Linked DNA regions of Homo sapiens: all the other regions are linked to region 4. Evidence: promoter capture Hi-C in human tissues and cell types (Jung and others, 2019). All regions are on one chromosome and are shown on one strand. The core of a region is centred on a gene start or on the middle of the fragment in contact, and the rest is flanking DNA. Distances in the headings are between cores, read along the strand shown.

Evidence for each region. Contacts are between HindIII fragments. The study calls those that stand out against the background at their distance.
Region 1: a fragment that was not itself captured here is called in contact with the fragment with the promoter of LPAR1 in region 4 in 1 of the 25 tissues and cell types used here (mesenchymal stem cells).
Region 2: a fragment that was not itself captured here is called in contact with the fragment with the promoter of LPAR1 in region 4 in 1 of the 25 tissues and cell types used here (mesenchymal stem cells).
Region 3: a contact is called between a fragment that was not itself captured here and the fragment with the promoter of LPAR1 in region 4, in 3 of the 25 tissues and cell types used here (dorsolateral prefrontal cortex, mesenchymal stem cells and neural progenitor cells).
Region 5: a contact is called between a fragment that was not itself captured here and the fragment with the promoter of LPAR1 in region 4, in 4 of the 25 tissues and cell types used here (IMR-90 fibroblasts, adrenal gland, lymphoblastoid cells and 1 more).
Region 6: a fragment that was not itself captured here is called in contact with the fragment with the promoter of LPAR1 in region 4 in 9 of the 25 tissues and cell types used here (IMR-90 fibroblasts, adrenal gland, aorta and 6 more).
Region 7: a fragment that was not itself captured here is called in contact with the fragment with the promoter of LPAR1 in region 4 in 3 of the 25 tissues and cell types used here (adrenal gland, dorsolateral prefrontal cortex and mesenchymal stem cells).

The regions. Positions count from the first base shown.
Region 1 is chr9:110,539,851-110,542,821 of GRCh38, forward strand. All of the region lies in intron 3 of SVEP1 (sushi, von Willebrand factor type A, EGF and pentraxin domain containing 1), which reads right to left. Among named protein-coding and RNA genes, the nearest start is that of SVEP1, 38 kb to the right of the region's middle. The HindIII fragment of the contact is 4,530 bases long and covers 1-2,971 here.
Region 2 is chr9:110,557,620-110,560,432 of GRCh38, forward strand. All of the region lies in intron 1 of SVEP1 (sushi, von Willebrand factor type A, EGF and pentraxin domain containing 1), which reads right to left. Among named protein-coding and RNA genes, the nearest start is that of SVEP1, 21 kb to the right of the region's middle. The HindIII fragment of the contact is 7,411 bases long and covers 1-2,813 here.
Region 3 is chr9:110,711,580-110,714,317 of GRCh38, forward strand. The region is part of intron 5 of MUSK (muscle associated receptor tyrosine kinase); the gene reads left to right. Among named protein-coding and RNA genes, the nearest start is that of MUSK, 44 kb to the left of the region's middle. The HindIII fragment of the contact is 4,819 bases long and covers 1-2,738 here.
Region 4 is chr9:111,036,957-111,039,834 of GRCh38, forward strand. It overlaps LPAR1 (lysophosphatidic acid receptor 1), which reads right to left and starts at 1,514. Exons shown (of 6, transcript NM_001351411.2): 1 at 1,211-1,514. LOC124902248 (a long non-coding RNA gene) reads left to right here. Exons shown (of 2, transcript XR_007061732.1): 1 at 1-833; 2 at 2,499-2,878. RefSeq lists a silencer at 944-1,283. The HindIII fragment of the contact is 11,259 bases long and covers 1-2,878 here.
Region 5 is chr9:111,367,871-111,370,570 of GRCh38, forward strand. ECPAS (Ecm29 proteasome adaptor and scaffold) reads right to left here. Exons shown (of 50, transcript NM_001364929.1): 45 at 2,565-2,700; 46 at 1,165-1,303. Among named protein-coding and RNA genes, the nearest start is that of OR2K2, 39 kb to the left of the region's middle. The HindIII fragment of the contact is 3,117 bases long and covers 1-2,700 here.
Region 6 is chr9:110,660,479-110,663,232 of GRCh38, forward strand. No RefSeq gene overlaps it. Among named protein-coding and RNA genes, the nearest start is that of MUSK, 6.9 kb to the right of the region's middle. The HindIII fragment of the contact is 6,229 bases long and covers 1-2,754 here.
Region 7 is chr9:110,693,944-110,696,935 of GRCh38, forward strand. MUSK (muscle associated receptor tyrosine kinase) reads left to right here. Exons shown (of 15, transcript NM_005592.4): 4 at 1,460-1,587. Among named protein-coding and RNA genes, the nearest start is that of MUSK, 27 kb to the left of the region's middle. The HindIII fragment of the contact is 5,815 bases long and covers 1-2,992 here.

The DNA.
Region 1 (2,971 bases), core at 164-2,663, 500 kb before region 4:
ATAATAAAAATTGAAATTAATTTTTAAATGTTCTGTGACCAAAGTGGCTAGACTATAGACTGTGCAGCCAGAAAACTCGAGCTCATATCCCAGCTCTATTAGCTGTGTGACCCTGGACAAATTGCTTAAGTTCTCAGACTTTTAGTTTCCTTATCTATAAAATGAGAAAATGCTCCAGAGAGTTATTGTAAAGATTACGAGTTAATATAAACAATGCTTAGAAAATGGTCTGGTACATAGTAAGCACTATTTAATATTAGCTACTATTGTTATTATTATCAGTTATTGCTCTCATCACCATCATCATTATCATTATCATCATCATCATTCTCACTATCCAAATGCCTAGGTGAAAGGTAAAGGATGAAGACAGTCATACTAGTAACAGAGGTGGAAATGTAAGTAACACCTTCTTTTCATTAGATCCACAGTTTTGCAATACTGTTCCCTTAGCTGAAATTTAATAACTAAACCCAGAATAATATTTTCTCCATCCTCTAAATCTAATTATGTGGTGTTAAAATACCAGACCTACATTCCTGAGTCATCCAAAATATTTGCAGTAAATGAAACAGAGTTATGTAGGGTTTTTTAAAAAAACAACAACAACAACAGCAAAATACCAATGCTTTTGTAAAACATTGATTGATTTACCACAAGAAAAGTATTGATATCTGGGTATTCCTGTTTTTCTCCATTTCTGGTTTCTTAAGGAGTAATGTAACATCAAGAGAAAAGAACAAGAACGACAAGACCACTAGCTAAAAGCACATGATTAACTTGAAACTAATTCATTGAAGTTTTGAGTCAAGGGAAATTATAAACCAGTTCAAACATATCATATGCTATAAAACTGAACTCTTTGACAGACTATTACTTGTCAGTGATTTCTAACAAATACCTCTAACAAAGACTGGTATTCAAGTTAGGATTTTCATGACATGGAACAGATCTACAATTATTACAATATTTTTGTGCATCAGGATCTTGTCCATGAAGTAGCTGCTTACTGTGACAGTGGCGTTCATTTCAAGGGAAGCCACCGCCTTGGCTACAGATTTGAGAGGTCATTGTTTGAAGACTCAATTAACCCAGACCACCAATCTCCCACAACAACGAGGAAGAAAGAGAAGACCACAGTAATATCATGATGGTCAGCTATCTTTGGTCTCAAGGGTACCTGTGAGATAGCCTTGGCCTGGGAATTGGAATACCTTAATTCTACTTCAGCTCTGCCACAAATTTACTACATGATGATGGGATGGGATTTCCTCATCTTCCGAACGAATGATGAGGAAAAACCCTTATGGGCATTTCTAATATTCTACTTGTCTATGAAACTAACAAATATAACTCATCTCAGCATCTGTCCTTATCCTAATCAAGGTAAACAACCTCTACTTTTTGTCTGTTTTATTATTATTGTTTTTAAACTTGTCATTGACCTGAAGCTTAATAACATCTGCTTTCTTCAACATTCAATGGCACATTATTCCTCTGCTTTCTCCCATCTAATAGTCTTGCTTTTCACTGGATACTCATCAGATTAAAAGTGTATTCCACCTTTAGTAGGTGCAAGGGCTCTTTACTAGGTGCAAGGCCTGTGCGCCAGCATGCACTGGTGAATGCACAGGATAATACCCCTAGTCTAGCCTAGAACAGTAGAATTCATAAGATATACGGTTGTCACTTCATACTTGAAGTAATTATCTTAATGCTCATTCATTAGCTTTCTCATGACAATTATATTATCTCAAAATAATCGTTAATAATAAAATCCGCCCCTGGTTGAGAATTGATGTGCCACATACCATCTTATGTATTCTAAGTATATTCTCTATTAACCCAACTAGTTTTGCATACACATACACACATGCAATCTATATACATATCTACATACATCTATATACATAGATATCTATATATATCTATATACATAGATATCTATATATATCTATATACATAGATATCTATATATATCTATATACATAGATATCTATATATATCTATATACATAGATATCTATATATATCTATATACATAGATATCTATATATATCTATATACATAGATATCTACATATTACATTTATACATATCTATGTACATAGACATGCATATATATGCATGTAGATATGTATAAAATTATACTATAATTTAAGCCCATTTTACAGAAAAAACTCAGAACAGAAGAAATTAAGTTGCTCATAGCCATGCAGTTTGTAATTGGCAGAGGCTGAATTTAAGCCAGCTCTTTCTGTGTTGCGAAACATTTTGAACACAGTTCAGTGTCTGTTGTCTCTGAGAAGCAATGTATATAAGATGTTATTTTCAAACATGGGGGAAGACAGCAGTGTGATATCTTGGAAATAATATAGGACTTAGAGAAAAGTGTCTGGGGTTCTTCCCGGGGTTCTGCTGATGTTTGGGTATGTTATCTTGAGCAACATACTCATCTTTCCTGAGGCCTCAATTTCCTCTTGTAGAATGAGGGGTTTAGAGCAGATAATCTCTAGGGTTACTTCTGGATCTAAAAGGGAATGATTTCCTTCTGAAAGGCATTGTTTCTGCAGTGAGGATAAATACTCAGAATTCCAACTATTCAGAATGAAATTTAACATCCTCTCCTTAAGTAATAAAACAGCTATCGTCTAGTCATCCTTCAGATCTCAGCTGTCTGTCTAACTTGAAACTTCTGTGTTGTGTGTTCTTCATACTATGGACATTTAAAAATAAAATTTAATAACACATAACATTGTTGGCAATTACAAACTGATTTTTGCAGTTAGACTGTAAGTCCCAAGAAGGTAGTGACCATATCTGTCTGCTCACTATTGAATACCTACCTCATACCTAGCAGTGGGCTTGGTGTGGAGAACATCCTCAACATTTATTTACCAAATGGATTTTAAAGGGGCTCACTGATGATGAGCATTTTTTCATGTGTCTGTTGGCTGCACAAATGTCTTCTTT
Region 2 (2,813 bases), core at 242-2,741, 480 kb before region 4:
TTTTATTCTGCTTTTTCACCATCCATGAATGAAGACATATATTCAGTCATAGTGTTTCCAACAAACAATGAACAACTAACTGGGTAAAAGTAAAATGAGTGTTGGAATTTATGGTTGTAAATTTTGCTATCTATTATTATTAATATTATTAAAGCAAGCTGATAACCCACCCAAATGATCAGTGAAGAGGTTAACCCTCTTATTTGTAACAAATAAGCCACAGCCTGTGTCTGAAAATGGATGGCCTAGATCACCAATCCCCAATAGAACTTTCTATAATGCTTGACATTATCATTTGTTCTGTTACATACAGTAGCCACATATGGCTATTGAGCACTTGAAATGAGACTATTGCAACTGAGAAATTGAATTAGTAACTTTGTTTAATTTTAATTAACTTAAATTTAAGTAGACACATGTGGCTAGTGGCTATAATATGGGACAGTGTAAACCAAGATAGATATATCCTCATCCCAGGATGAAAAAACACAAAACATCTAGAGAAGGCCTATGAAAATATTCTGTAAATCCAAGATATACAAAATCAACTGAAGCATTTGGAAGAGTATGTAATTTAATACTAAAATAAGAAAATAAGAATAATTGGCCCGGTGCTGTGGCTCACACCTGTAATCCCAGCACTGAGGCAGGCAGATTGATTGAGCCCAGGAGTTCAAGACCAGGCTGGGCAACATGGAGAAACCCTGTCTCTACAAAAAAAAAAAAAAAAAAAAATTGCAAAAAATAGGCTGGTTATGGTGGTGCACACCTGTAGTCCCAGCTACTTGGGTGGCTGAGGTGGGAGAACTACTTGGGCCCAGGAGGTGAATGTTGCAGTAAGTCATGATGGTGCCACTGCACTCCAGCCTGGGTGACAGAATGAGACCCTGTCTCAAAAAAAAAAAAAAAAAAAGCATAATAAAATGGTGCTTGTATTACTAGGATTTAGAAAGTCAAAACCTCCATAAAAAACAAGAACTGAAAGCCATAGAAAGAGAATAGGCTAAAATGAAAAGAGAGATGTGTAAGAGAGGAATTTGATAAGAAACTAATGCATGAAAACTCAAAATAATGAAAGACAGAGATCCACATTGCTCATAGTGAGATAAAAATGCCAGAAATTCAAATTGATAAAGTTTAGTACAAATTTTAGTGTAGAAAGCTGCTGACTAATCTCACATAGCCACAAAATTTTATATAAATACTACCAAACTGAATTCAAATATTAAAAGAAACTTTCTCGTTTATGTGATAAGGCTTATTCCTCAAATATAAATATATATTAAAATTGGAAAGTCTTTGGCTCCAATGCAACACAATTATTACCCCAATTAAAAGGAAGTAATAATCCAATATGCTGAAAAGACATTCAATAAAATTAATTTTTGCTTTGCTTATCAATAAAAATTAGGAATAAAAATATACCTCATTAGTATGATAGATTATCTATCTCAAAACAATAATGGAAACCATGTTCAACTATTAGAAAAACAGCAGATTTCCCAAGTAGGTAAGAAATAAATCAGTAGTATTAAGTATTTTCATTATTATTTAAAATCCTTTTGAACTTCCTAGCTAACATAATAAGACACAGAACCATAGAAAGTGTTATACTTCTTAAAGCTTCTGCTCCCTCTAAAAAAATCAGAATTAGAAAGAAAACAACAAACTGGAAAATATATGTATTATGCTTATCAAATATAGTATTAATGTCTTTAAAATATAAATAATTTTTATAGCTGTCTAAGGAGGAGAAAAGAGAAAAAATAACAGAAATACAGTTGAGCATTTTTGACCAAACAAAACAAAGACCAAAAAAAGAAATTGTATTTGCCAGAAAATATGAAAAATGTTTAACTTCATTAATACCAAAATAGCATAAGTTTAAAAATAGTAACACTGTTTTTTTTTAACTTCTCAAATGGCCAAGGTTTTCTTTAAATTTCAAAATTGCAAAATACATAGGAAAACAGATATTTTTGTTGGGAATACCACCTGTCCTGGTAATATTTGGAGGACGGTTTGACAAAGTGATCAAAGCCTTAAAATTTTCACATGATTTGAACTGAAATTCTACAGCTAAGAATATGTTAAGGAAATAACAATGGATACACACACAAAATGATCAAAAGGATGTATGTGTATCCCAGAATAATTTGCAATAATAAAAAATTAGAAACAATATAAAGTTCCAACAACAGGACAAGCACACTAGTTAAATAAATTATAGGGTAATCACATAATATTATTACAATGATATTATTGAACACTATTAAATTTAAGAAGTAGGCAACCAAACACAATGATTTCATTACCTATATGTACATGACATTAGTGTGCATGTATGTGGAAATGTACTGTATGTCTGTTTGTGTATGTATGAGTGTGACTGACTCATACAGTATATAGTCATGTATACACTCATGTACCACATAATGATGTTTTGGTCAATGACAGACCACATATACAACCGTGATCTCATAAGATTATAATGCCATATTTTTGCTCTGCCTTTTCTATAGCTATGTTGAAATACACAAATATTTAACATACTGTTACAATTGTCCACAGTATTCAGTACTGTAACATACTGTAAGGGCTTATAGCCTAAAAGCAATAGGCTATTCCATATAGCCTAGGTGATTAGTAGGCTATACCACCCAGGTTTTTGTAAATACAGTCTGTGATATTCACACAATAACAAAATTGCCTAATGATGCTTTTCTCAGAAGGTATCCCCATTGTTAAGCAATGCATGACTGTACATCAAAATGTTGACTGTCTCCTAGTAGTGTCTTTAGGGTTTTTCATTT
Region 3 (2,738 bases), core at 155-2,654, 330 kb before region 4:
TACATCCTTAGCCTCAGCACAGCAAATTAATAGAAGCTTGCAGAAGACCAAGCTGAGATTTCTTATAGAGACCTCCAGTGGAACAAACTTAAAGAAGGCCCATATGGTTAACGTTCTTGATGCCCATATGGTTAACATTGTTGATGCACCTGTGTAAAGAACCAGGCTAAATCTAATAAGGCCATACTCACTTTGTCGTCAAGAATCTTTGAGATTCTTTTTAATCAAAAGTGGGGAGACTATAAGGAACAATTTGTGCTTAAATGGAAAATTGTGTGTTGTCATTCTAGAGCACACCTGTGTTGTGTGATTCCAATTCTGTGGGAGCTGTTTTAAAGCTTTATAAATTGTAGATAACTGGCAGCAATGCTAAATCGTTCTCCTCCATAGACTTGCAAATGAATTCTGTCCAGTGGAAAAGCAACCAAAAAACCCAATCTGGCTCTGTTTGCACAGTCATTTTAATATTCCTGATCTATAAATGGGTCTGTCCTTGGGATTCTCTTTTCACCTGGTTGCAACACTTCACTGGTTTCCTTGTGAATGAGTTAAATAAAACCTTTAACTCATGTTTATTCTGAAAAAAAAAAAAAAAATCAGTGCCTGGGTTGGGGAGAAGGGTCTCTGCTGAGAAACTGACATTTTATCCATTCCTATAGTAAGTACTGTGTACTTTATTTTCTTTTACTTTATTTTTTGCTCGGCCTGGCATGTATCTTAGAATCCAATTTGAAGCTTAGTCATAGTATCTGTTACACCAAACCATCCAGAGGTTTTCTCCCTGATCCTAATATATTGTTATTCATTTAATTTATGGCCATATCAATATACCTTCCTTAAGATCTCTATGGAAAGAGAAAGAAATAACTAAGTTGACGGATTCATGGAACTTCTCCTCCAAGTGGTTCTCAAATGCCAGTGCACATCAGAAGCATCTGGAGATCTTACTAAATGACACAGCTTCAGGATGCATTCCCCAGTTATTCATATTTGATAGGTTTATGTTAGTGCTTTTTAACAACACCCCAAAGGATCCTTAATGCAGTGACCCATGAACCACACTTTGAAAAACACTGACTTCAGGTTTTCTACTTAGAGGGACTTTATTCCAGATGAATCTAAACAATTCAAGGAGAAAGCTTATCTGCAAATAGTAAGATATCAATGTTAGGATAGCTTCAAATTCATCCATTTGTGGAATGCCTACTATGTTCTATGCAATGAGGTAATTCTTAAGGATACAGACGAAAGAGAGATGTGGTTCATTTCTTGAAAAGTGTTCAAATTCAGTGAGGAAGATGGATATGCAAACAAGTAAAATGCAATATATTTACAATGATAGAAGTTTGTGTAGGGTTATATACACAGGACAGAGGAGATAGGGAAAGGTCAGGGAAATCTTCAGAGAGGTGAAGGCCAACAGGGCTTTGATTGATGAAGAGTGAGGAGCTCTTGGTGAGGATCATATCACATTGAGGGAGGAAAAAGAAAATAGAGGAAAAAATTCAGATTTACCATGCAAGCACAGCCTGACACTGACTCATAACCAGGGAGTAAAAGAAGGATTAGAGAGTTTGGGACAGTATCTATTAGTGGTGCTATAAAAACAGAATAAACCATGATTTGACTCACAGGCTAACATGGAGATCATCTTCTTGGTATCTTCTCTTGGACCTTTTTTTCTTTTTTTTTTTTTTTGAGACAGAGTCTCTCTCTGTCATTCAGGCTGAAGTGCAGTGGTGCAATCTCTGCTCACTGCAACCTCCGCCTCCCAGGTTCAAGCGATTCTTATGCTTCAGCCTCCTGAGTAGCTAGGATTACAGGCATGTGCCACCATGCCCAGCTAATTCTTGTATTTTTAGTGGAGATGGGGCTTCACCATGTTGGCCAGTCTGCTCTCAAGCTCCTGGCCTCAAGTGATCCACCTGCCTCAGTCTTCCAAAGTGCTAGGATTACAGGTGTGAGCCACCATGCCTAGCCCTCTCTTAGACATAATTTTAAACGGGTAGATACCTAACATCCTGACAATGTGGGAACCTATGGTTTGGAGGCATATGGCCTTATCTGGCATCCAGAATTCCATCTAAAAGGTTACAGAAATGTTCCCAACCCAAGCCACTTTAGGCAACTGGGATACTGTGGTATGATTTAAGATTAAGTTTATGGCTTCTATTTATTTTTCCAACTAAAATTTCCGGTTGGCTAAAACAAAAATCTTATTCTTAATAGACCTCAGCTCGTTTAACGCATGTCAGAGTGCAGGCATCTTCCAGAGCTTAGATCAAAAAAGTTATTTAAAAGTAAACTAAGATTTTGATAAACGTACCATGGTTATACAGGATGCTAACATTAGGGGAAGTTGGGTGAACAGTACATGGAAACCTTCTATACTATCTTTGCAACTCTTATGTAAATCTAAAATTATTTCAAAATAAAAATGTTTTAAAAAGGTAAACTAAGAAATACTTCTTTGTCCTGGTAATTAAGCAGTTTAGCATCTCCTCCCATCAAAAACAGAAAATGAACTTTCTTTAAGAAGAAAAAAGTGAATCAGGAATGAAGTCACATATTTTATTGGCTGATGATTAAACTTCTAATATATTTTCAGAACCAGTTTAACAAAAGTGCGGTTGCTTTATATACACCTAAGACTGAAACAAAAACAAGTAAACTTTGTGTAGCTCTTGTCTGATTTACATGGTAAACATTTCTTGCTCGTACCCACTATTCACCATCCA
Region 4 (2,878 bases), core at 264-2,763:
GGTTCAAATAACCATACCTCTAAAATACACCCTTTTTCCTTGGGACCCACTCTTCTATCCGGCAAGGGAATAACTTCTTAAAAAACTTCGCATTTTCCAAGTGTACAGTCTCCCCTTAACCAGAACTGCAGACTCTGAATCACAGACCTCTGGCTTACCAATTATGCTTAGCTGAGCAAACACACTTATGCAAATACGTGAAAAACAAACTGTTAGAGCCTGAAGGAATAGAGGATTTCGCTGTGATCATCAATATGTGATCATCACATTTTCAATATTTATGTTTACCAATATCTATCTAACCCCATAGGAAACGACGCGTCCATAGTGAAACAAGCCAGCACCCACATTTATGAAAAAATCCACGGATTTCAACAAAAATGAAGAGAGGAGAGCAGAAGCGGAGAGCCACAACCTCAGGCCCCAGACAGCAGGCAGCAGCAAGTCCTGAATGCCTTCACTCTTAACATTGCAAAGACCAAATGGCAGCAAAGAAAAACAAGAATAAACTTTAAATCCATTCACCACAAAGGAGTCCTACGCAAGTCAAAGGAGCCGTCGATTTCAAAACCATCAACTTTCAAAGCCAGGTCCCTCCCTTGCCTTACAACCTCCTGTTACTTGTTAAGCACGTTTGTTAGGCGGCTGGACAGAAACTTAGTTAAAAGTCCTCAGCCCGGTGGTGGGGGACAACCGAGTCGTCAGTGGGAAGCGAGAGGTGCGGAGCCCCAGGGGCGCAGGGACCCCTCGGAGGTGCAAGTCCAGCGGGACGAGGTTTTGGGAGAATTTCGAGGGCCCCTCGCAAGCCCTCCCGCGCACCCACCCCGACCCAGGTAACCGGAGGCCACCTACGTGTCACTGGGCGGGCCCCGGGGCGCACTGACCTGGCGCGGGACAGGAGGGCCGGCGGCCCGGGCGGCTGCGGCAACTTCCCTCCAGGGGCTCGGTCCGCCGCTGGGTGCGGGAGGCCAGGGGAGCCTCGCCTCCTGCAGGCCGGCTCGCAAGAACGCACGGCCACCCACCCGCGCCGCGGCCCACAGCGCGCACCCACACTCTCACTGGCACTCGCACGCGCGCCCCCAACCACAAAGCCCGTCCGCGGCGGGACAGTGTGAGCCCAGCGCGCCGTGTGGCGGGCCGAGCAGTCGCCGCGGCCTCTGGCTTCGCGCCCAGGGGGCGCCGTCCCCACACGCCGCGCCGGCCCCCTTACCTGCGCTCGCTGCCGCCGCGCGTCCCTCTCCTGCCGCCCCCGGGCTGGCTTCAGGCCGCGCGCCCAGTCCCGGCGGCCCCCGCCCCACCGCCAGCCGAGCCCGGCCCTCCGCCCGCCCCTCGGCAGTCGCCCAGAGCGGGGCCGCCCCCTGCGCCCACCCCGCCGGGGTCCCGTGCTCGGCCGGGCGGCGGGGAGGGCTCCGCGGCTCCGGGCCCTGGCCGCCCCAGATCCGGCCCGCGCTCCGCAGCGGGGCTGGAGACGGAGTCGCCACTCAGGGAGCGTCAGCCGCCAGTCGGCCCCTACTGCCCGGCTTTGGCGCGCTGGCAGGAGGAGGGGGCGCAGAGGGAGGGCCAGAGGAGCAGCGCCGACGCCAGCCTCCTCTCTTCCTCCGCCTTCCTTCTTTTCTGCTTGTTCCACGTAGCACAAGTCAGCAACACCCGAACCCCCAGAGTCCGCCCTCCCCGCTCCCAAGCTGGACCCCTTACCTGGTGTGGCGCCCCCAGCGCCCCTGACCTCTGCGCCCCCTCCTCCATTCATTGGCTCGACAGCCCACGGTGGTGGCAGGGCCGGGGCTGGGGGGTGGCCTTAGCCTCCCATTCATTATCTCAGCAGCCTCCCCCGCCCCGCCCCCGAGTCGACACACCCGCAGCGGGAGACCCGTGGCCGCCAGCTCGGGTCCCACCCCCGCCCCTCCTGCGCTTACCCCAGCGCCGGACAGCTGGCAGGACTCCGGTGGACGCCCCGGCACGGGGCATTTTCACGTTGTCGCTCTCCTCTTCCCACTCGAAAAGCTCTGGAAAACATCGCGGGGCCCGCAAAACCCCGGAAATGTGGCCTCTCTTTCGTGGCTCACTTTCTAAACTTTCCAGAAGGCGCAAAGTTTCTCCCAGCGCCGCCCTGCACTGGAGGCTGCGAAGAACGCAGAAGCGGCTTTGCTGCTAGGAAGGTGCATACGTTTCTAGTTCTGATTTTTCACTTCACTGGATCTGTAAACGAAAGCAAGTGTGTCTGCTCCCCTAGTTCTCCATATCCACGATTATAAATTTCTCTTCCGCTTTCCCAGTGTAGCTTTGCAAGTGTAAACTATCAATTTTAGTGAGAGTAATTAAGGGCGGGGACTGCACACCTGGAGGTGTGGGTGGGAGCGGCGCGGGACTAAGGCCTAGGGAACATTCTCAGGAGAGTGGCAGCCACAGGGATTCGCCCAGGTCTTATAACACACCCACTCGATGGGGTCTCCCTAGCCACGCCACCTCACAACACCCATCTCCCACTTCTGGCTTCCCAGGATTTCCGGAGTGATCACAATTATCGGCCTCTCGCTCCACAGCTAAGGCCACCGCATATCAAAAATAGCAGCGTGTGAGTAAAAGTTTCATGAGCCCTCGCCTTGAAATGGCACAGAGGACACAGCACACCAGCAGTAAGGCATGGGGACTCGGCAGGACTGATCTGATTGAGAGAAACGCAGGACAGCGAGGCGGGGCTATGTTGGTGGTGGCCACCAGGTAACCGTGGGCTTTGCAGAAGAGAAAGGTCACTGCAAACCGTAGCTGGACGGAAACTTTTCAAGCCTCAAGTGAGTTATGCTGTGACGGGACCATGACCATCTCCCACCGGTGACTGCTTAGAACCTTGACCAAGCTCGTGTGGTTTTCACAGGATGCT
Region 5 (2,700 bases), core at 25-2,524, 330 kb after region 4:
GACCTCACCTCTTCAAAAAAAATTTGCTGGGTGTCGTGGCATGCACTTGTAGACCCAAATACTTGGGAGGCTGAGGCAGGAAGATCACTTGAGCCCAGGAGGTAAAGGCTGCAAGAACTGCACCACTGCACTCCAGCCTGGGCAACAAAGCAAGACCCTGTCTCAAAAAAAAAACAAACAAAAAAAAAACGAATACTAAGATCTTCAGCAGGATGCACTGTAGGACCCAACACAAGGCAAGCTTAAAGGGTAGCATCATCACTTCTTGGCCTTTTGGCTAAGATCAAGTGTAAAGGGTAGTATCATCCCAAGGTTAAGGCCCTGTCAGGGGACTCCAAACTAACTGCAACCTCATCCAATAATAGAGGTTTACTGTTCATTTAATCTTTGGGAAATACATGTCCAGTTCTGAAAATTGTCCAAATAGTAATGAGTTTTTCACTGAAACAGGGATTTCAGTTGCTTACTGAACACTTGGTAACAAGACCATTCATTTCAGGATAAAGAGACCCTGCTAATAAACTTTGTGCATTCCTCTGAATAGAGCTATGATCATCAAGAAGATCAGTAGAACTCGTCTATCAAACTATCTGCATAAAATGTATCATGGTTATTATAGGTGGAACTGTGCCCCCAAAATTCGTATGTTAAAATACTATCCCCCAGTACCTCAGAATTTGACTGTATTATTATTAAATAGAAGACAGAGCCTTTAAAGAGGTCATATGAGTGGGCCCTAATCCAGCGTGCCTGGTGTCCTTATAGGAAGAGGTGATTAGGGCACAGAGACACCAAAGACCACGTGAAGACACAGGGAGAAGACAGCCATTCCCAAGCCAAGGAGAGAGGTCTCAGGAGAAACTAACCCTGCTGACGCCTTGATCTCGAAATCTCAGACTTCTATCCTCCAGAATTGTGAGAAAATAAATTTCTGCTAAGCCACCCAGTCTGTGATACTTTCTTACAGCAGCCCTAGCTACAGCGGTACAATGATCAGTGAGATCACAGACTCATGTAGACAAAAAACTTTCACTGGATAATTCTCATTATTAATCAATCAGGCTCGATAAGAAACAATAACTATAATTTGTCATAGAGAAAATTCTTCGCTCTCATTAAGTAACCTCTGGTTACAGCACTTCAAATGCAGTTTCTGGTGCTTACGTTGGGTCTCCGCGTTTCGCGGCCAGGCTTTGCCCAGGCTTTCAAAGGCACCCAGCAGATATTCCAGCTGGAGCTCCTTTTCCTTTTCATTCTCCTCTTCATTTTTGGTTGTCCGGACCCCACTGCTTTCAAGTGAGTTCTAGGATATATCAAAGAAAAGAAAATGTAATATTTTCTTCTTCAAAGTTACAGGTATACTATTAAAGCTATCAGGGTACCAACCAAGGCAGGAGATATTAACCAAGAGTTAAATGATAAATTCTCTACCATAAGTTTCCCTATTTACAACAAGAATTTATAACCAGAATACTGTATCTCTAATAAATTTAGGCAATACTTTACAGGCATCTGTAAACAAAAGCTAAAAAATACTGCATATGTAGTCTTTTGAGCATAACATGAAAAGACTTGCATTAGAATCAGATTTTAAAGATGGAAGAAACTCAGTAATGATCTAAATCCAAACTCTTTCTTGATAGAGAAACAGAGGCTAAGAGAAGCAACTGGTCCAGCTTGCTAGTGATGTAATCAACTTAAAACACAAGTCTCCCAAATCCATATGCTATCACTATGTTTGTAATGGAAATTATTTAAATAGCCTTATTACTGAAAGAAAACAACTGCAATTTAGGAGCAATAAGAAATAAGAATGTTACTTAAAATATTTCATGTTTCACAAATAAACAGGGAAACCACACCCTTTTTTTTGGGGGGGGGACCAGTGCCCAACTTTTAAAAATGAGTATTCCATTTTCCACATGAAACTTGAGTCTTTTTTTGACCCAAATCCTCCACTATATGGCAGAGGCAATTCACATGGCACACTGAGCTTCTTGCCTTTACTCTAGGATGGCTGGGGTGGCTTAGCTTATTAGCCAAGGCAAAGCTTATTATGACATAAACTGTTCATTCACTACCAAATCCACTCTCCCCTTCTCCCATGGAGGGCAAATGGACACCCAGAATGAAGACTCAGTCTGCTGCCAGGTGTGGCTAAGTACTGACCAACAGGATGGCTATAAGTCAAAGTGCCATCTAGCGGTGCCCAGGAACTCTCCTCAAGAGAGACATGGCATGCCCACTGTATCCTTCATCCTTGCTTCATCTCCTCTGCATTCCTGCCTAGAACACAAACACACTGTGGACCATGAGGATGATGACCACACCCTAGAAATGGCAGAGTTCAGAGCTGTAAAGAGACGGAATACCTGAACACTTTGTGATGCTCCCAACGCTTTGTGAGAAACATAGCATTGACTATCTTGTTTAAGGCCGTATTTTGGAATTTCTCTGCTACTTGCAGCTAAACTAATCCTAATAATCAGGACATAGGGGAAAACAATTTTTTAACTTTTTCTTTTTAAAGTATAAACCAGAACTGAGGATACAGGTGGTATTACCTTCTTGATGAGAGGTATGACAATGTTAGAGAACTCCTGGAATCTGTCCTCTTTGGTGGCCTTCAAGATATCAGCTGCACAGCTGATTGCTACAATCTTGTATTTGACATTCTCTTTGCTACATTCCTTCAGAACA
Region 6 (2,754 bases), core at 232-2,731, 380 kb before region 4:
GGAGGCGAACAAAAATGGATAGCATTTTATTTGAAGATAAGTTAGCTGTCTAGGATTAGCTATTTGCGTGATACTATCTTAACTTTAACAGCACTTTGACTTTTAGAATTCATGTTTTTTCAGGTCAATTTACAGACCTGCTAATTTTTTAAAAACAATTCTGAATTTATATACAATCCATAGTTTATCAAACATATTACATTCTTCTGCACGTGGCTATCCAGTTATCCCAACACAATTTATTGAAGAGACTATTAAACTCACCAATAGAAGGAAACACATATTCCCCAACTTTTTCCCCGTGCCTTCATGTATAAGGATTTTGAACAGAGTCCAATATCTGGATGAGTGTTGGTTTACAAAAGTATTTTAGCTCAATGAGGACAGTGAGCACCCATTATGGAGATATGGCCTGTAAAATGGCATTTTGTTTTAAAGTCTCTCACAGTGATGGGAAGAGAAAGCAAAGTTTAAAAGTGAGCGGTCCTCTTTTATCTCACTGTTAGTTCTAATTGAATATTAAACCATTTAAAGATTAATTTAATATATCTCAAAAGTTGAGTTTTGGTTTCTTGTGAGACGGGCATGTAGGTGACCAGATATACCAGTGTTTCCCAAGACAGAGATTTAATTCAGAGATACAGGTGTAGAATTCACATGCATATACCTGTTAACTAATGCTGTAAGTGTGGACACTGAAAAAAAAATGCCAATGACTTAAGCTTGGAGAAAACTAACATTTATTTTCTCCATGGAAGAAAAAGGATTTCATGAAAGAGAAAACAAAAAATAACAAGAAAAACAGGAAAGAGCCCGATTTAAAAAGCCAAGTGAAAAATGGCTTTTAAGTGAAAATAATTGGCCAGTATTTTCATATGTTTGGGAAAATATATGTAAAGCTATAGATCTAATAGATATATTCCTTCTCTCTCATACACATGTTTTTTCTGGTACTTTTAAAATCCCAAATTTTATTTTGGCGTAATATATGAGGTACAGATGTAATTGATTTTTTAAAATGGCTACCAAATTCACCTAATAAGTCATCTTTCCTCACTAATTTAAAATGCCGTCTTTATCATTCATTCAGTGTGCACTGACCTTCTACTTATAGCCTCATACCACAGGATTTTAATGTCATTACATTAAGCTATTATTAAACCTTTACAATACATTTTAACACTTGGTAGGCAAGTGATTCCTTATTTTTATAACGATGCCAAGAATACACAAAAATAGTCTCTTCAATAAAATTGTGTTGGGACAACTGGATAGCCACATGCAGAGAATAAAATTAGGCCCTTATTTTATATAAAAATCAACTCAAAATGGATTTGAGACTTAAACGTAAGAATGGAAACTGAAACTACTAGAATATAAATGGAAAAAGCTTTTTTTCCCACATTTTCCCTGATTATTTTTGCTTACTTTGTTTCTGTATATATGTTCTAAAATCAGCTTCCTAGTTTCCAAAATACGATTGGAATTGTATTAAGATTACCTTAAGTGTATAGGCTACACTATCTCAGGAGACAACAGTTCTGATAAAACTATGGTTTGCTATTTTTCTCCTTCGCAAACTGCACTAGGAGCAGGTTGGAGAAACTGAGTTGTAAATGAAAACCCACTACCAGTAGCTCCCCTTCACTATCTAGATCTCCAGCTCTAAGAAAGATGGCATGAACTAAGGCTGTGTATAGGGTAGATGTGAAATCGAGGTTCCGGTGGAGAGGGAAGTGTAGTCTCCTTTTTGTTAAGAAAGAAACAAAACCCCAAACTTACTTGCCCAATATCTTAGGCCCTGAAACACCAGGATAATTAGGTGCCCAAAAATTCATAATCATTATTTTTTATTCCTCCTAACTGCAATTTTGCATCCTTTCACCAACATCTCCCCAATACCCATTTCCCCTCCCCCAGTCCCTTGTAATCACCATTCTCTCTACTTCTATGATTTCAACTTTTTCAGATTCCACAGACAAGTGAGACCATGTGGTGTTTGTCTTTCTGTGTTTGGCTATTTCACATAACATAATGTCCTCTAGGTTCATTTATATTATCCCAAATCACAGGATTTTCTTCTTTTTAAAGGCTGAATAGTATCCCATTGTGTATATATATACACACACACATATATATGTGTGTATATATATATATATATATATATATATAGTACCACATTTTTGTTATTTATTTATCTAGTCATGAATATGTAGGTTGATTCCATACTTTGGTTATTGTGAATAATGCTGTAGTGAACATGGGAATACAGATATCTCTTTGACATACTGATTCATACTGATTACATTTCCTTTGAATATATATCCAGTAGTGGGATTGCTCTATTATATGGTAGTTTTCTTTTTAGATTTCTGGTAAACCTCCCCACTGCTTTCCATAATGGCTGTACTAATTTACATTCCCACTAACAGTATACAGGGTTCCCTTCTGTCCACATCCTCACCAACACCTGTTACCTTTCATCTTTTTGAAAATAGCCATTCTAACTGGAGTGAGATAATATTTCATTGTGGTTTTGATTTGTATTTCCCTGATAATTAATGATTTTAAGCATGTTTTCATATACCTGTTGGCCATTTGTATGTCTTTTAAGAAATGTCTATTCAAATCCTTTTCCCACTTTTCTTTAAGTGAATGAGGTCTTGCTATGTTGCCCATGCTGGCCTTGAACGCCTAGGCTCAGCATCCCGAGTAGCTGGGACTAAAGGGGTGTGCCACTGTGCTTGACTTCTT
Region 7 (2,992 bases), core at 355-2,854, 340 kb before region 4:
ATTTACAGTTTATTAGAAGGAGAGTTGTATGCTATAGATAGCAGGCAAAGTAATAAAGTTGTTATTTTCCTATATTTTAAAGCCTTTCTTGTATTTTTGCTATAACACAGGGCCGCAGGAACTCTAAATGACAGTGAATGCTTAGATTAAAAACCAACAGGTCTCACGCCTGTAATCCCGGCACTTTGGGAGGCCGAGGCGGGCAGAACACGAGGTCAGGAGATCAAGATCATCCTGACAACAGGGTGAAACCCCGTCTCCACTAAAAATACAAAAAAAAAAAAAAAAAAAAATTAGCCGGGTGTGGTGGTGGGCGCCTGTAGTCCCAGCTACTCGGGAAGCTGAGGCAGGACAATGGCATGAACCCGGGAGGCGGAACTTGCAGTGGGCCGAGATCGCGCCACTGCACTCCAGCCTGGGCGACAGAGCGAGACTCCGTCTCAAAAAAAAAAAAAAAAAAAAACAAAAAAACAAAACCCAACAGGTCATGAAGGCTTTGCAAGTATCTCTTACCACCAACAACACCAAAGCCCCCATTCCTCTCCCTCACATTGAAGTAGAAGAAAACAAAGTCCATATTTCATGCGTTCCTTTGTCAAAATAACAAATTGGTTACGGCACATGTCCTGCAAGAAATAAAATGTGTCCATTGCTCAGTAGTCTCTCTTGCGAAGTCCCCCTCTGTATCTGTAACGTAAAATTCCTAAGGACATAAATGTAGTTTTAACTATTTTACGAATAGTACTAAAATAACTGGCATCCTGAACTTATCAATTCTTTTGTATATTAGATTTAATAACTTTCTTTGAAAGTTTCATATTTGAGAATAAAAATTAACTGGCATAAACTATTTCTTCTGAAAGATTAAAAGTGTTTGAACAGTAAATTACATGTTTGAGTCCCCCCAAATTGTATGACAGAATTTCTTCTGATTGTTAATATAATAATATCTGGTTTACTTTCTAGAGAATGAATGTATTTAATTAATAATCATAAAATTTAATAGTCAAATTAAGATGGAAGCTAAAGGGAAAATAGGTCATAATTTCTAACTAGGTAAGAATATAGTTATATCAAAATTTTCTTTTCAAATGTTTTATGTCTATCAGTATGAATTAAATAATGTTGAATTGCTATGGTGACAGTCTATGTTAATCAGCTTTTATTAACTATCTTTTAAAATGAAGAATGCTATGGTAACTTCACACTGTTAATATTTTTCATAAATTTGTGTTTTGCTAGTAAGATTCTAATAAAGCAGAGACAACCAAGTGTTTCTAAACTGATTTCTGTTTGAGATCTACTGAGGAAAACTGTCTTTGCATTTGGTGAATTTTGTAATGTAACATGCCTCAAATGATTCTCAAAACAGATGTTTAGAATTAAATTGAAAGTTAGAAACTCTAGGTTTAATAAAGCCATATTGCCTTATTTATTTTGAATTTTCATTTCTTTTTAGAACCTAAAATAACTCGTCCTCCCATAAATGTGAAAATAATAGAGGGATTAAAAGCAGTCCTACCATGTACTACAATGGGTAATCCCAAACCATCAGTGTCTTGGATAAAGGGAGACAGCCCTCTCAGGGTAAGTGGTTATGATGTTAAAACACATATATAAAATGTATTTTAAAATATAACATTTCTTTACACACTCAGTTACACACTTACAAACTTCTAGTATAAAGTAGTTTCCATGTACATTTTAACCAAATGTAAATATTTCTGTTTGCATATATGCAAACTGCATGGCATTTCATTTGGGTCTGGCTAGGGAAAAAAGAGATGGGAACCAATAATGTTAAAGATAGAAAAGGAGGCAATGAAAAAGCAAACCTGGAATCCTTTGTATTTGTTGGCTGGCTAAATCATTTATTTTTTTTTAATGTTGAATCTGAGACTTAGGGGATGAAAAAGAAAAACTAAAACCCAGGCTTTAGAACTGACAGTTTCTGGAAGGAGGGAGGGAGACAAGGTTCGGAAGAAAAGAAATGAGATCTCTGGAGAGAAGTTAGGCGAAAAGACTCAAGACTCATACACAAATACCTTGGCAAATCCCTCCTGAGTCATGAAGAGTAGTCACGCCTGTAATTCCAGCACTTCAGGATGCCAAGGCCTGAGGTCAGAAGTTCAAGACCAGCCTGGCCAACATGGCGAAATCCTGTCTCTACTAAAAATACAAAAATTAGCTGGGTGTGGTGGTGTGTGCCTATAATCCCAGCTACTCAGGAGGCTGAGGCAGGAGAATAACTTGAACCCGAGAGGCAGAGGTTGCAAGTGAGCCAAGATCTCACCACTGCACTCCAGCCTGGGCAACAGAATGAGACTCCATCTCAAAAAAAAAAAAAGTTATTATCCATATGCTTATTTTGTACTGCCTCTGTATCTTATCCCCACATTTATTGATAAATTATTATGAGGCATCATTATTGTCTTTCCATCTTTATATCACCTAAAAGATTACAGACTATGTTTTTCATTTAACAATGCATAGTATATTTTAAGAGGAATACAAAGGTGTCACTTTATGTCAATTAACTGAACTAAGGTATAAAATTGCTCAGCTTTGCTTTATTTAAAATAAAATAAATATTGCTAATTTTTAATGATTAATTATCTGGCTTTCCTCTTGTTATAAATCTTGGTGCATTTCCTACAATGACAAACAAGGGTGGTTGTACTTATGTTACTGAATTTAGGGTTCAAAACAGAAAAGACAGATGTAATATTTAAACTCCAAAGAGTAATTTTAATATTATGTGTGAAATTTTCTAGTATTTCAAAGGACATGTACTCTTCTAAAGATACCATCTAGGGTGCAAGGTAAACCTGATAGTTAAAAGCAATGTGTTTATTTATTCATATTTCAATAGCTTTTGGGGTACTAGTGGTTTTTGGTTGCAAGGATGAACTGTATAGTGGCCAAGTCTGAGATTTTAGCGTGCCTATTACCTGAGTGCTGTACATTATACCCAGTATATAGTTTTGTATGT